Regions from separate parts of the Homo sapiens genome. Here region 1 is linked to region 2. Evidence: promoter capture Hi-C in 16 types of primary human blood cells and fetal thymus (Javierre and others, 2016). All regions are on one chromosome and are shown on one strand. The core of a region is centred on a gene start or on the middle of the fragment in contact, and the rest is flanking DNA. Distances in the headings are between cores, read along the strand shown. Region 1 has its middle 42 kb from the start of RSPH1. Region 2 holds the start of TFF2 (trefoil factor 2).

Region 1 (6,372 bases), core at 1,160-3,659, 100 kb after region 2:
TTCATCAGAACATGGGTGGCTCCTGACCCATCACTCCCAGACCCAGAGCTTATGCACCATAGGGGAGAGGTGGTTCAGAAGGGATGTGCAGGACAACTAAAGTACAGTAACATCGAGGTCGCTTGACCTGAGGGCAGGACCTATGGTAAGTACCTGCTTTTATGTAGGTATATACAGTAAAGGGAGCAGTCATAGCAGTGGGGGAAGGAAGGTGATTAAATAAATGACACTGGGACAACTGGATCACATTTGGGGAAAAGAAGGTTGGAATCACTCCTCATTCCTCATACCAAAAAAAAACATCAAAGATTTAAATATTTAAAAAAAAAGAAATCATGGGCCGGGCGCAGTGGCTCACGCCTATAATCCCAGCACTTGGGAGGCCAAGGCAGGTGGATCACTTGAGGTCAGGAGTTCGAGACCAGCCTGGCCAATGTGGTGAAACCCTATCTCTACTAAAAATACAAAAATTAGCCAGGCATGGTGGCAGGCACCTGTAATCCCAGCTACTCAGGAGGCTGAGGCAGGAGAATCACTTGAACCTGGGAGGCGGAGGTTGCAGTGGGCCGAGATCACACCACTGCACTCCAGTCTGGGCGGCAGAGTGAGACTCCATCTCAAAATAAATAAATAAATAAAAATAAAAACTATCATAGAGTTAAAAAGTAAAAGGTAAGCTGGGAAAGCTCTGTGCTTCTCATGCCGCCCAGTTCCAGCCCACCCCCTCCAGGAAGCCCTCCTGGCCGCCAGCCCACCTTGCTGCCCCTGAATCCCAGCTCAGGCGTCCTCTGCACAATTCATGTCAGTCGTGTCTGCCTTGTCCTGTTGTTGCGGTCTCTCATCGTCTTGTCTGTCACTCCTTCCCAGGGGTTGCAATAGTGACCGTGTGCCGGGCTTCCAGGCAGCCCCAAGTCCAGTGGGACCAGTGACCCCCCTGCAAAGCTTCTCTGCTCCTATAGGCCAGGATTTCCCAGCCTTGGCACTATTGACATTTGGGGCCAGATACATCTTTGTCAGAGGACGCCCTGTGCATTGTGGGATGTCCAGCAGCATCCCTGGCCCTCCCCTACTGAAGCAGCAGTACGTCCCTCACCCCAGCCCACCAGTTGTGATAAACAAAGATGTCTCCACATGCTGCCAAATGTCCCTGGGGGAGCAGGATCATCCCCAGCTGAGAAGTACCGATGTATTCCCTTCACAGGTCTGCATGGAACCCTGGCCTCAGGGCTCCCACCAGGGCACTCAGGCATAGCGCGAATGGGCACAGGTGTGTTAGGAGTCTGGAGTCGCACATGTGCACTCCTGCTGAGCAGACAGACCTTTATGGAGACGAAGGTTGGAAAGGAATCGGTGCACATCTCGAGCTGAACACTTGTGTGATGCTGCTACGGAGGAAGTCCGAGCAGAACTGGAACTTTGCGGACACTGCCCCTGGACGTAGGTGTGGGCCTGGGCAGGGGGAGCCACGCGGAGGTGCGACCAAGTCCTGCACGGACCTCACTGCCTCCGTGTGATGTGGTGGCTGTGCTGTGAGGGCAGCTGAGCCCTGTGTCCAGCCTCGTAGTCCTCTTGGCTGGCCCCACACTCAAATTCTAGAACATTTAAGTGCAGTGCACCGTGGACACCACGAGGCTCCACACTGTTGGACTCCAGTCCTTTAGCCCAGCTGGGAGCAGCCCTGACACAATAATTCTTCAACAGAGGCTTCTCCTTAACCCTGTCTCATGCTTCTCCTCTCCCCTCATCCCCAAGGCCGACAGATGGTGGCTGCACACACATTCAGGAGATTGCAGGAAATAATTTCCAACAGCAAATGAGACATTAATTATTCAATGCAGATAAACATCAACAACAGCGCTTCATCCAAAGGAATTCCACTGGGATCCAGGGGCTCTGAGTTGGAGCCCAGTTCGGTCCTCTACTCATGGTGACCTCAGACACAGTCTCTGTGTCTCGGGCTCACTGCTGTAAAATCATGCGGCCTGTCGATGGGTCCATGTCACTTGCAGCATCTTAGTCCTCATTCTGGAGGACACGTGCCCTCTTAGCAGTGAGCCCTGGAGGGGCTGACTCGCAGTGTCTGCTGTGTTTTCCAGTTTCCATGATGTAAATGCACCAGGGCTGATTCTGGGCTGCCAGTGTTTTGACAATTGATTTGCAGACTGCGTGAAAATTTAAAACTCAGCTCTCTTGAGCTGATATGAGCCACCCCAGCCCACCCCTGCAGCAGGCACGAACGTTAGTTTGCAGGGAGAGGCCAGCTGAGCTGCTGCACAGACCTGCTGGGATCATCACAGCTGTGCGCTTCAGGCCAGTGCCTCTTCCTGTAAAAGGAAACAACATTCTCTCTACAGAGGATGGAAGGACAGAAGGGCTGAGGCCCATGTGCAGGCGGGGTCAGGAGAGAGAGGAGGCCAAGTCCCTGGGTCTAGGAAAGACGGGTGGGTGGAGCCAGGCCAGGGGCACTAAGTGGAACGCTGTCTGCTCCCTGCGGAGCACTGGACAGACTTTTGGTTCCAGGGATTCATCCCGAGCTGTGTCTCTTCCGGGATCCTTGGCCAGCAGCGACTCTGGCACCTGGAGCACACCTGAAGAGAGCCCCCAAGCTCTCGCCTCTCTCCAGCCCTGCTATCCAACCAGATGTTCCCACTCCTGCTCCTCCCTGCCTCATCGCCTCAGCCGCCCGGGGTGAGCCACCTACTCTCCCAAGGCAAGACACAGCCGGCATGCTTCACACACTCACCTTGAAGTTCAGGGTTGGAAGGTCAGTCCATCCAGCTGAAGTTCACTGCTAGAGATGTAATTGAATCAGCCCTGGCAGGAGCATTTGGACCACAGGAATAGGTAAACACGGCTGCGAGTCAGCCCCTCCAGGGCTCACTGCTAAGAGGGCACATCGTGTCCTCCAGAATGAGGACTAAGATGCTGCAAGTGACGTGGACCCATCGACAGGCCACATGATTTTACAACGGTGGGCCCGAGGCACAGAGACTCTGTCCGAGGTCACCATGAGTAGAGGACGGAACTGAGCTTTAACTCAGATCCCAGTGGAATTCCTTCGGATGAAGCGCTGCTGTTGTTTATCAGCATTGAATAACTAATGTCTCATTTGCTGTTGGAAATTATTTCCTGCAATCTCCTGAATGTGTGTGCAGCCGCTGTCTGCCGGCGCGTGGGGGGTTCTTCATGAAAAGTGAGAGGGGTCCAGCTGTGTGAAAGGCCTTTGCAAATTGCCACAGCAAACTCCCAGAATTATGATGTACTTCTTCCTGTGTGGTTCCAAGTAAATGCCACTTCCGGCTGTCCAGTACCATTTTTTCCTAGGACTTAAGGCCACAAAAATGGATTAAGAAACACACATGTATACATGCAATCTTCCTGGTGAAGTCTTCAAACAAAGTTCTCCAAGAAGTCATTAAAAAATTAATCATCTGGAAATGTCATGTTTCTCCTTCTCTCTCCAAAATGTATTTCTTTCAACCATTAACTCATTCTCTTTCATTGTGTCCCATAGTGAGACAAAACTGTGTTAGGACAATAAACCAAGCAATTTTCCAAAGAAGCTATAGCACGAAAGCAACGTAAATCCCGAAGGAGAAACGCCTGCGAATGAGCTCACCGAAGGCACACTCTCCTCCCAGGAGCCTCCCCGGAGAGGCAGCCCGTTTATTTGAGTTAGTGATTTTGGAAGACACACTGCACTTTCTTTGCCTCCAGCTATCCTTGAGCCATTTTGTTCTCCTTGCGAGGTACTGATAGCACTTATTATCTAGAAAATATAACCAGACTTTGAGGAGAGGCAAGGGGCCCTATAAATTATTTATTTTTTTGCTTCTCAAACTCTGGACCGAGGACCAGGATTACAGGCATTGCCTGGAAGCTTGTTACAAATGCAGGGCCTCAGGCACCCCCGTCTCCGTGTCAGCAGCTGTGTCTTAGCAGGATCCCCAGGGCATTGCCTCACAGTCAGGGTGGTGCAAAAGTCCCGCCTGGCATCCTGGTGAGTGGACCAGGAGGGGGCAGGTGAAGGCGATATTATTGGTCCTTCGACTCCAGACAAGAACTTGCAGCTTAGCCTGAGGAAAGAAATTAGCCCATATGATGAAACACAATCTGATGACGTAAGGATTTTTGTACTTATGCCCACATGTTTAGACATGGCAGCCCGCATCCTCTTAAACCTGAACTTTAACATACCGTGACTTAGAGCCACAAACAACAAAACAGAGGGCAGGAACCAGAGTTCTCCAGAGAAACAGCCAGTGGGAAACAGGACCCACATCCATACGGATACAAACATACAGATACAGGCTGGGAGAGGGAAGGAGAGAGGGGCATTGGCTCACACTCTTACAGAAGCTGAGAAGCCCCACGATCTGCGGGAGCTGTTGGCCTCCCGTCTGGAGGCCAGTAGGCTCGAGACCCAGAGAGAATCGATGTTTTCATTCAAGTCCAATGGCAGGAAAAAGCCAATGCCTCAGTTCAAAGGCCGTCAGACATGAGGAGTTTCCTCTTAGCCTTTTGTTCCATTCAGACCTTCAACTGATTGGATGAGGCCCACCCACCCTGGGGAGGGCCGTTTGCTTGACAGTCTCCTGATTCGAATGTTCGTCTCATTCAGAAACCTCCTCACACACCCCCAGAGTGACACTGGGTCAAAACGTCTTTGCACCCTGCAGTCCAGTCAAATTCACATGTGCAGTTGAGCTTCACATTGGGCATTTCTGCCCTGGTAATGTCCTCCCATTACCAAAAACCTGGTATTTGTCCTTCTTTTCAGTGGGTTTCACAGCCCAGCAGCAGCTGGCCCTCTTGTAGAGCAGCAGTTCCCAGCCTTTTGGCACCAGGGACAAGTGTCGTGGAAGAAAATTTTTCCACAAACCAGGGTGGGGTGGGGGTGGGGAATGGTTTTGAGATGATTCAAGTGCAATTACATTTATTGTGCACACTTTATTTCTATTATCACGTTGTAATATATAATAAAATAATTATACAACTCACCATAATGTAGAATCAGTGGGAGCCCTGAGCTTGTTTTCCTGCAACTAGACAGTCCCATCTGGGGGTGATGGGAGACAGTGACAGATAATCAAGCATTAGATTCTCATAAGGAGCTCACAACCCAGATCCCTCACATGCACAGTTCACAGTAGCGTTCACAGTCCTATGAGACTAATGCCACCACTCATCTGACAGGAAGCGGAGCTCAGGCAGTAATGAGAGCAATGGGGAGTGGCTGTAGATACAGACGAAGCTTCACTTACTCATCCACCCACTGCTCATCTCCTGTTGTGCAGCCTGGTTCCCAACAGGGGTTGGAGGCCTCTGTTACAGAGGACCCTCTCCTGACCGCCAATGAGACCCATGAGCTCACCGTCTTGTCTGCCCTTCCACAGCCCACGCTCCCTCCTCAGCCCACGCCCCCTCCTCAGCCCACACTCCCTCCTCAGGCTCAGCACTGGGAAGAGTTCGTCCTTCCTCACCTCAGCCCTCAAGTGTGGAGTCCGGCGCCTCAGTCATCCACTCAACAGACATTTATGAGGGAATGTTTGGGTGCCATTAACACTGCTGGGAAAGCAGCAGTGGATCAGATACAAGCTCACTCTCAAAGAGCTTATATTTCAGTGGAAGGTGGTGAGCAATGGACTAATAAGCCAGTGAACACGTAACACCTCCTCTGCCAATACGTGAGGTGAAGAGAAGACAGCAGAGAGGGGGACAGAGGCGGAATACAAATGTTATGTTAGCAGTGAACAATCAGTAAGTAAAATAAAAACATCACTTATAGTAGCATAAAGAAACCAGAAGCAAAAGAGGATGTACTGCATGATTCAATTTATATACAACTATTTAGAGACAAATCCAATCTGTGGTGACAGAAAGCAGCACATCAGACGCTTAATGCTGGGAGTAGGGGAATGGATTGCAAATGGGCACGAAGATATTTTCAGGCTGACGGGAATCTGTGTGCTGATTGTAGGGTGGTATATTAGTCTGTTCTCACGCTGCTAATAAAGACATACCTGAGACTGGACAATTTATAAAGGAAAGAGGTTTAATGGACTCACAGTTCCACATGGCTGGGGAGGCCTTATAATTATGGCAGAAGACGAAAGGCACATCATACATGGCAGCAGGCAAGACAGAGAATGAGAGCCAAGCGAAAGCAGAAGCCCCTTATAAAAATCATCAGATCTTGCAAGCCTCATTCACTACCACGAGAACAGTATGGGGAAAACTGCCCCCACAATTCACTTATCTCCCACCAGGTCCCTCCCCAACATGTGGGAATTATGGGAGCTACAATTCAAGATGAGATTTGGGTGGGGACACAGCCAAACCATATTAGGTGGTCACATGGTTGCCTACATT
Region 2 (6,610 bases), core at 1,442-3,941:
AGAAGGCTTCACTTCCTTCCCTAACATTTGAGGGCTGTCAGCCCTTATGTTACTGCTGTCCTATTAAATACCTTCATTTCCCCATGGAAGCTTCTTCAGAAGTCACACTTCAAAAACTAGAGGAGACCTACTATATATATATATATTTTTTTCTCAACTAAAGTAAAACTGATGGCTCCACACACACATGTCTGTTGAAAGAACTAACAGTGTAGAAACAGGGTAGGTGGGAAATTTTCATCTCACTGTTGGCTGACCTGGGTTACCTCTAGACTAACAGTCCAGGCTGGCCCCAGGCTAACCAACCTGGGCTACCTCTAGACTAGCAGTCCAGACTAGTCCCAGACTAACCAATCTGGGCTACCTCTAGACTAACAGTCCAGGCTAGTCCCAGACTAACCAACCTGGGCTACCTCTAGACTAACAGTCCAGACTAGTCCCAGACTAACCAACCTAACCAACCTGGGCTACCTCTAGACTAACAGTCCAGGCTAGTACCAGACTAAACAACCTGGGCTACCTCTAGACTAGCAGTCCAGGCTAGTCTAAGACTAACCAACATGGGCTAGCCCCAGACTAACCAACCTGGGCTAGCCCTAGACTACCTCTAGACTAGCAGTCCTCTAGGCTACCTCTAGACTAGCAGTCCAGGCTAGTCCCAGACTAACCAACCTGGGCTAGCTCCAGACTAAACAACCTGGGCTAGCTCCAGACTAACAAACCTGGGCTAGCCCCAGACTAACCAACCTGGGCTACTAGCCTCAGACTAACCAACCTGGGCTAGCTCCAGACTAACCAACCTGGGCTAGCTCCGATTAACCAACCTGGGCTAGCCCTAGACTAACCAGCCTACGCTAGCCCTAGACTAACCAACCTGGGCTAGCTCCAGACTAACAAACCTAGGCTACTAGCCCCAGACTAACCAGCCTATGCTAGCCCTAGACTAACCAACTTGGGCTAGCTCCAGACTAACCAACCTAGGCTACTAGCCCCAGACTAATCAACCTGTGCTAGCTCCAAACTAACTAACCTGGGCTAGCCCTAGACTAACTAGCCTACACTAGCCCTAGACTAACCAACCTGGGCTAGCCCCAGACTAACCAACCTGGGCTACTAGCCCCAGACTAACCAACCTGGGCTAGCTCCAGACTAACCAACCTGGGCTAGCCCCAGACTAACCAGCCTACGCTAGCCCTAGACTAACCAACCTGGGCTAGCTCCAGGCTAACCAACCTGGGCTACTAGCCCCAGACTAACCAACCTGCGCTAGCTCCAAACTAACCAACCTGGGCTAGCCTTAGACTAACTAGCCTACACTAGCCCTAGACTAACCAACCTGGGCTAGCCCCAGACTAACCAACCTGGGCTAGCCCCAGACTAACCAACCTGGGCTAGCTCTAGACTAACCAACCTGGGCTAGCCCCAGACTAACCAACCGGGGCTAGCTCGAGACTAACCCACCCAGGCTAACCCTAGACTAGCAACTGGGCCTCCTCCGGCCCCTGCTCTGGGCTCCGCCTGTGAAGCTGGGTCCTGGGTTGCCAGCTGCTGGCCCAGGAAGATTCCCTGGAAGATTACCTTGCTTTGGGAGGGGGTGGAAACACCAGGGGACCCCAGTGACACTGGAGTCGAAACAGCATCCATTGTCAAAACACTGGTCACTGGTGATTCCAGGGAAGCCGCAGTTCGTCCTGTTATGGGGGCTCAGCCTGGAGCACTGGCAGGGGGCTGTGGAAAGACCCTCAGTCGGCCCCACCCTGGTACCCCAGACCACACTGCTCCTTCTCTCAGAGGTTCTAGGGGATGCCTCTACTGTCTTGTTGCCACATAGAGAAACACAAAGTCTTATCTTGCCCATATTTAAGCAATGCGGTTTCCTCCTGAGAAGCCGATAGGGCTTTGCTGAAATTGTTATATTAGTTTAAAAGGAAAAAAAAAAAAAAGCCAGGCATGGTGGCTCATACCTATAATCCCAGCACTTTAGGAAGCCGAGGCGGGCAGATTGCTTGAGCTCAGGAGTTCAAGACCATCCTGGGCAACATGTCGAAACCCCATCTCTACAAACAATACAAAAAAAAAAATTGGCCGGGCATGATGGTCCACAACTGTGGTTTCAGCTACTCAGGCGGCTGAGGTGGGAGGATCACTTGAGCCTGGGAGGCAGAGGTTGCAGTGAGCCAAGATCACACCACTGCACTCCTGCCTGGGCGGCAAAGCCAGATCCTGTCTCGGAAAAAAACAAAAACAAAACCCTCCTAGAGGAGGGTGAACAGATGGACCCAAGGCCAAGATCCAGGCGAGAGGTGAGTGCTCTGGGACTCCAAGGACCCTTGGTGGGAATGCCCTCCTGGCCCGACACGGGGCCCGCTGACACCTGCCGTCACTCAGCCTTTCCCTAGGAGGGAGGCCCTTCTTGGAGCCACCCTCCTGAGCAGTGGCAAATCCCATGTGAACAACACACATTGCCAGATGCCTTTATAGCCATTCCCCCTCTCAAGTTAATTTATGGTTGTGCTTTTTTTTTTTCTTTAAGAGAAATAAAGAAAGCACATAAAAAGACCCTCTCCTTCACTTACAGGGTTTCTCACTCCCCGCCAGGGCACATAGCCCCAGGACGAGGAGCGCTGCCAGGAGCTGGGCGTCTCGCCGTCCCATGTCTAGCTCAGCTGCACCCCAGGGTGGCTTGCAGAATGCATGGTGTCCACTGCCGGGTATGTTTTATAATCTCCCCTCTGTTTGTCCAACAAGCAGAGATAACCTTTCTTCTCTGCCCCGTGGCCCCAGCCCTTCCACCGTGGAGGCGAAGAGGAGGCAAGAGGCAGCTGTGCCCTGTGCAGGCGAGGCTTCCGGGCCAGGGTGACTCTCTCCCTGCTCGGTGATACCTCTTCCTGCCCTGGACAGAGAGTTGGGTCATGCCAGGCTGCCAGCGTGGAAAACCGGCCACGTGCAGGTCTGGGGCTGGGCACACACAGGGTCACACCCAGGAAGGGATAAGCTATGCATTTCTATTGATAGAGTGGGCAGGGACCACAGGAATTTAGAAAATATTAGGGCCAAGTTTACTGGGGAAAATGTACAGGCCAGCAGATAGCATGGAAAAGTCCCCTCCCTGAGGAAGGGAAGCATCTCAGAGGAGGTAAGAGACTGCTCCCAGGGCTGTGGTTAGAGCCTCCCCAACCGCAGCACGATGCCCTTTGTCCCATCTTCAGCAGGAGGGGCTGCTCTCCATGGAGATGAGGCTGACAGGGTCAGCGGAGTAGCCTGTGACAGGCAGGTTTTAATAAGTTCATTTTCAGCCAACCCCTGAAATGGGTTATTTTTGTTCCATGGGAATGCTCTACATCTTCTGAAAGATGGCACCTGGGACCCAGCCCATGGCCTTCCTGGGGTAGGATGTGCTGGAGAAGGATTCTGTGGACCTGACAGAGAAGACAGAAGCCAGAGAGTAGACACCCGGAAAGAAAGAGGGAAAAGTGTGGTGGGAAGGACAGAGGGGACCCGAAGTTCCCCACGCCAGGGAAATGACAGGGGGTTGCCAGTCTGTTTCTGATGGTTGAGCAGTCAGGGGCCCAGAGACGCAGGAAACCCAAAATCCTTGGTCCACCACGGGGCTGTCCTCAGGGTCTGGAGAGCAGGCCCCATACTCCAGGCCCCCATCCTCCAGGCCCTCGTCCCCCAGGCTCCATCCTCCAGGCCCCCATTCTCCAGGGCTCCATCCTCTAGGCCCCTGTCCTCCAGGCCCCCATCCTCTAGGCCCTCATCCTCCAGGCTCCATCCTCCAGGCTCCATCCTCCAGGTTTCATCCTTCAGGCCATCATCCTCCAGGCCCCCGTCCTCCAGGCCCCCATCCTCCAGGCCCCATCCTCCAGGCCCCCATCTTTCAGGCCCCTGTCCTCCAGGCTCTTGTCCTCCAGGCCCTCATCCTCCAGGCCCCTGCTCCTCCAGACCCTCATCCTCCAGACCCTCATCCTCCAGGCCCCCATCTTTCAGGCCCCTGTCCTCCAGGCCCTCTTCCTCCAGACCCTCGTCCTCCAGGCCCCTGTTCCTCCAGACCCTCGTCCTCCAGACCCTCATTCTCCAGGCCCCCGTCCTCCAGGCTCCATCCTCCAGGGCTCCTCTGGGTCCGGGTCAAGTACCTCCAGGCTCTCTGCTGACTGTTCACCACTGGGCAACCACAGGGACTCGATCCATGAAAACTCTGGCAAGGTCAGTTTCCTTGTTCTACATCCCTGTCACTTTAGTCACCATCATGATATAAGTGACTGAGTCATTGTTTTCTCTCATATTCCCACCCACCTCTCCTCTCTGCTTCCTCCCCATCAACTCGACTTCCCACCGCTCACTGCAGCCCCTTCAGGATTCCTGCTGCGACCACCTGACCCATGCAAAAGAGACCACTTCTCAGCCTCTCTCACTCTCCTGGCCCTGGCGGAAGCCTGTGTTGTCATAGGCATGCTTCCCTGGAATCCTGCTCAGGCCCCCACGCAGGGACACTGAGTGCCCACAGAGTTGGGAAACCATTACACGAGATGGGACGTCTGCAATAGAGTGGCATCGCTAGTTGAAAGTGGAGCTGTTCACAACCTCCACAACTGTACTTGGTGGCCACGTCCCCATCACATGGGCTCAGACTGGGGGCTGGACATTGACTTTGAGCCCCAAGTCTTCACCCTCATGCAAAAACCATCCTCCTTGGAGATGCAGGCTGGGAAGGGCGCCATGTCCGGAGTCCCTGCCCTGCTGTCATCTGCCGACCTTTGTGCAGCCTGTCCCTTTCGTTAAGAATTTCAGCACTGAGTTCACTGTGTTCCTTGTCATGCTAAGACTTGGCCACATCCCAGCCATCTTCAACATGGCGGTCGATGTTTCATCAAAATTCACAGTCGCTCAGATTTTATTTTTCCTCATCTCTAGGAACTTCCATCTCCACTCCACTTCTGCCACTTCTGCCACCCTCCCATGACCACACTCAGAACTTGAGCTCCACCTCTGAAAGAGGGTATGCAAATGTCCTTTCTGCCCAGGATGTCCTAAGCTCCTAACATTCTCCCTTTGTCTGAATCCTAAAGCCCTCCAATCCCCTATTCCCCTGTGAGCCCCCTCCTGTCTATCCTTCCTTCCTGCTTCTCCAGCCTGATTTCCACAGTGCTCACTTCACCCACCGTCTTCCTCACTGCTGTTTCCCACTGTCTCTGTGCCTATGCCATCTGCCTAGCATGGCCGACACCTACCTTGAATTGTTGCCACTCTCAACGCATGATCTCAGCGCCATCCAGGCACTCAGGGCTGGCGCCCTCCTCTTTCTGTTTATCCTTCTCCACCCCTGCTCACTTCCATTTTGCACACTTTGGGGATGATACTTTCCATCAGTTCACATAGAAAGTCAACAAATGGGAACCACCTCAGCTATCACCCATGTGGACTTCCGCTTTTGACTATGGAGTCACTGGTACCAGGCTAGCCTCCCACCATGAGTAACTCTAAAACTACATAAGTAACAGTCTGCAGATGCTGAGCAGCAGGCAGTGCCAGACAGCGATCCCTGAGAGAAGGGAAACAATAGGGGGAGTCCCATGGCTGCCTTGGTTTCCTGGAGACGCTCTCCAGACTACAGCACAGGGAGGGGAACCCAAATAGCACTGAAGTCCCATCGGGCTGAGGAGACAGAGGTCAGAATTGGAAGCTTCTGAGGCAGGCGGGTTATCAAGGTAAGAGAAGGAAGCTCCAGAAATATAAAAGTGTGTCCTTTGAGCTTTTCATCAAATACTATGCTGTTCGTGCCCACAAGGCCAGGCTAAGTAGCCCCTGGGGACAGAACAATCACTGGGGAGGCTAAACTGAACAACTAGTGTAGGGTTCGTGGGGCTGGAAAGCATTTGAGCTCAGAGCAGCCAGAGGTGTTGACCACTTCAAGCATTCAATAAAGGCCATGCCGTAAAAAGAAGGCTGATCTTTCTAGAGGAAAGCTACTCAAAATCCATTCGAACAAAACTTTAAAACAAGTCTTGCAGGAATCAAGTTAACCTGCAAGTAAATTAACTGCTTGTATTAGTTCACTCAGGTTGCTGTAACAAAATACTACACATTGTGTAGCTTAACCAACAGAAGTGTACTTTCTCACAATTCTGGTGCCCAGAAGTCCAAGATAGGGTGTCAGCACATCTGGTTTCTACTGAGGCCTCTTTCTGCTTGCAGATGGCTTTTTTTCCCCATATCTCACATGGTCTTTCCTCTGTGCACGCACATCTCTGGCGACTCTTTTCTTATAAGGACACCAGTCAAATTGAACCAGGGCCCACCCTAAGAGCCTCATTTTAACCTGATTACCCCTTTTAAGACACTGTCTCCAAATGTAGTCACATTCTTAGGTAATGGAATTTAAGGCTTCATATATGAATTTGGGGGAAATAATTCAACCGATAACACTACCTGAGAGAGCAAAGCATTCAACACTTTACTAATGAAGACAGCAAAACCTAAATACACAACATAACATCCCTAACGTCTAACAGAAAATCAGAAGTTACTAGATGTGTGGAGAGAACTAGGAAATATGGCCCATAATCATTAGAAAAATCAGTGAACAAAAACAGACTTAGACATGGCATAA

Evidence for each region. Contacts are between HindIII fragments. The CHiCAGO score rates a contact against its expected background, and 5 or more counts as called.
Region 1: a fragment that was not itself captured here is called in contact with the fragment with the promoter of TFF2 in region 2 in 2 of 17 cell types (total CD8 T cells and activated CD4 T cells); the score reaches 6.6 in total CD8 T cells.

Annotation. Positions count from the first base shown.
Region 1 is chr21:42,451,359-42,457,730 of GRCh38, forward strand. No RefSeq gene overlaps it. Among named protein-coding and RNA genes, the nearest start is that of RSPH1, 42 kb to the right of the region's middle. The HindIII fragment of the contact is 2,938 bases long and covers 941-3,878 here.
Region 2 is chr21:42,348,303-42,354,912 of GRCh38, forward strand. It overlaps TFF2 (trefoil factor 2), which reads right to left and starts at 2,692. Exons shown (of 4, transcript NM_005423.5): 1 at 2,577-2,692; 2 at 1,579-1,728. The coding sequence starts at 2,655. It overlaps LOC105372815 (a long non-coding RNA gene), which reads left to right and starts at 3,991. Exons shown (of 3, transcript XR_937755.3): 1 at 3,991-4,999. The HindIII fragment of the contact is 5,593 bases long and covers 89-5,681 here.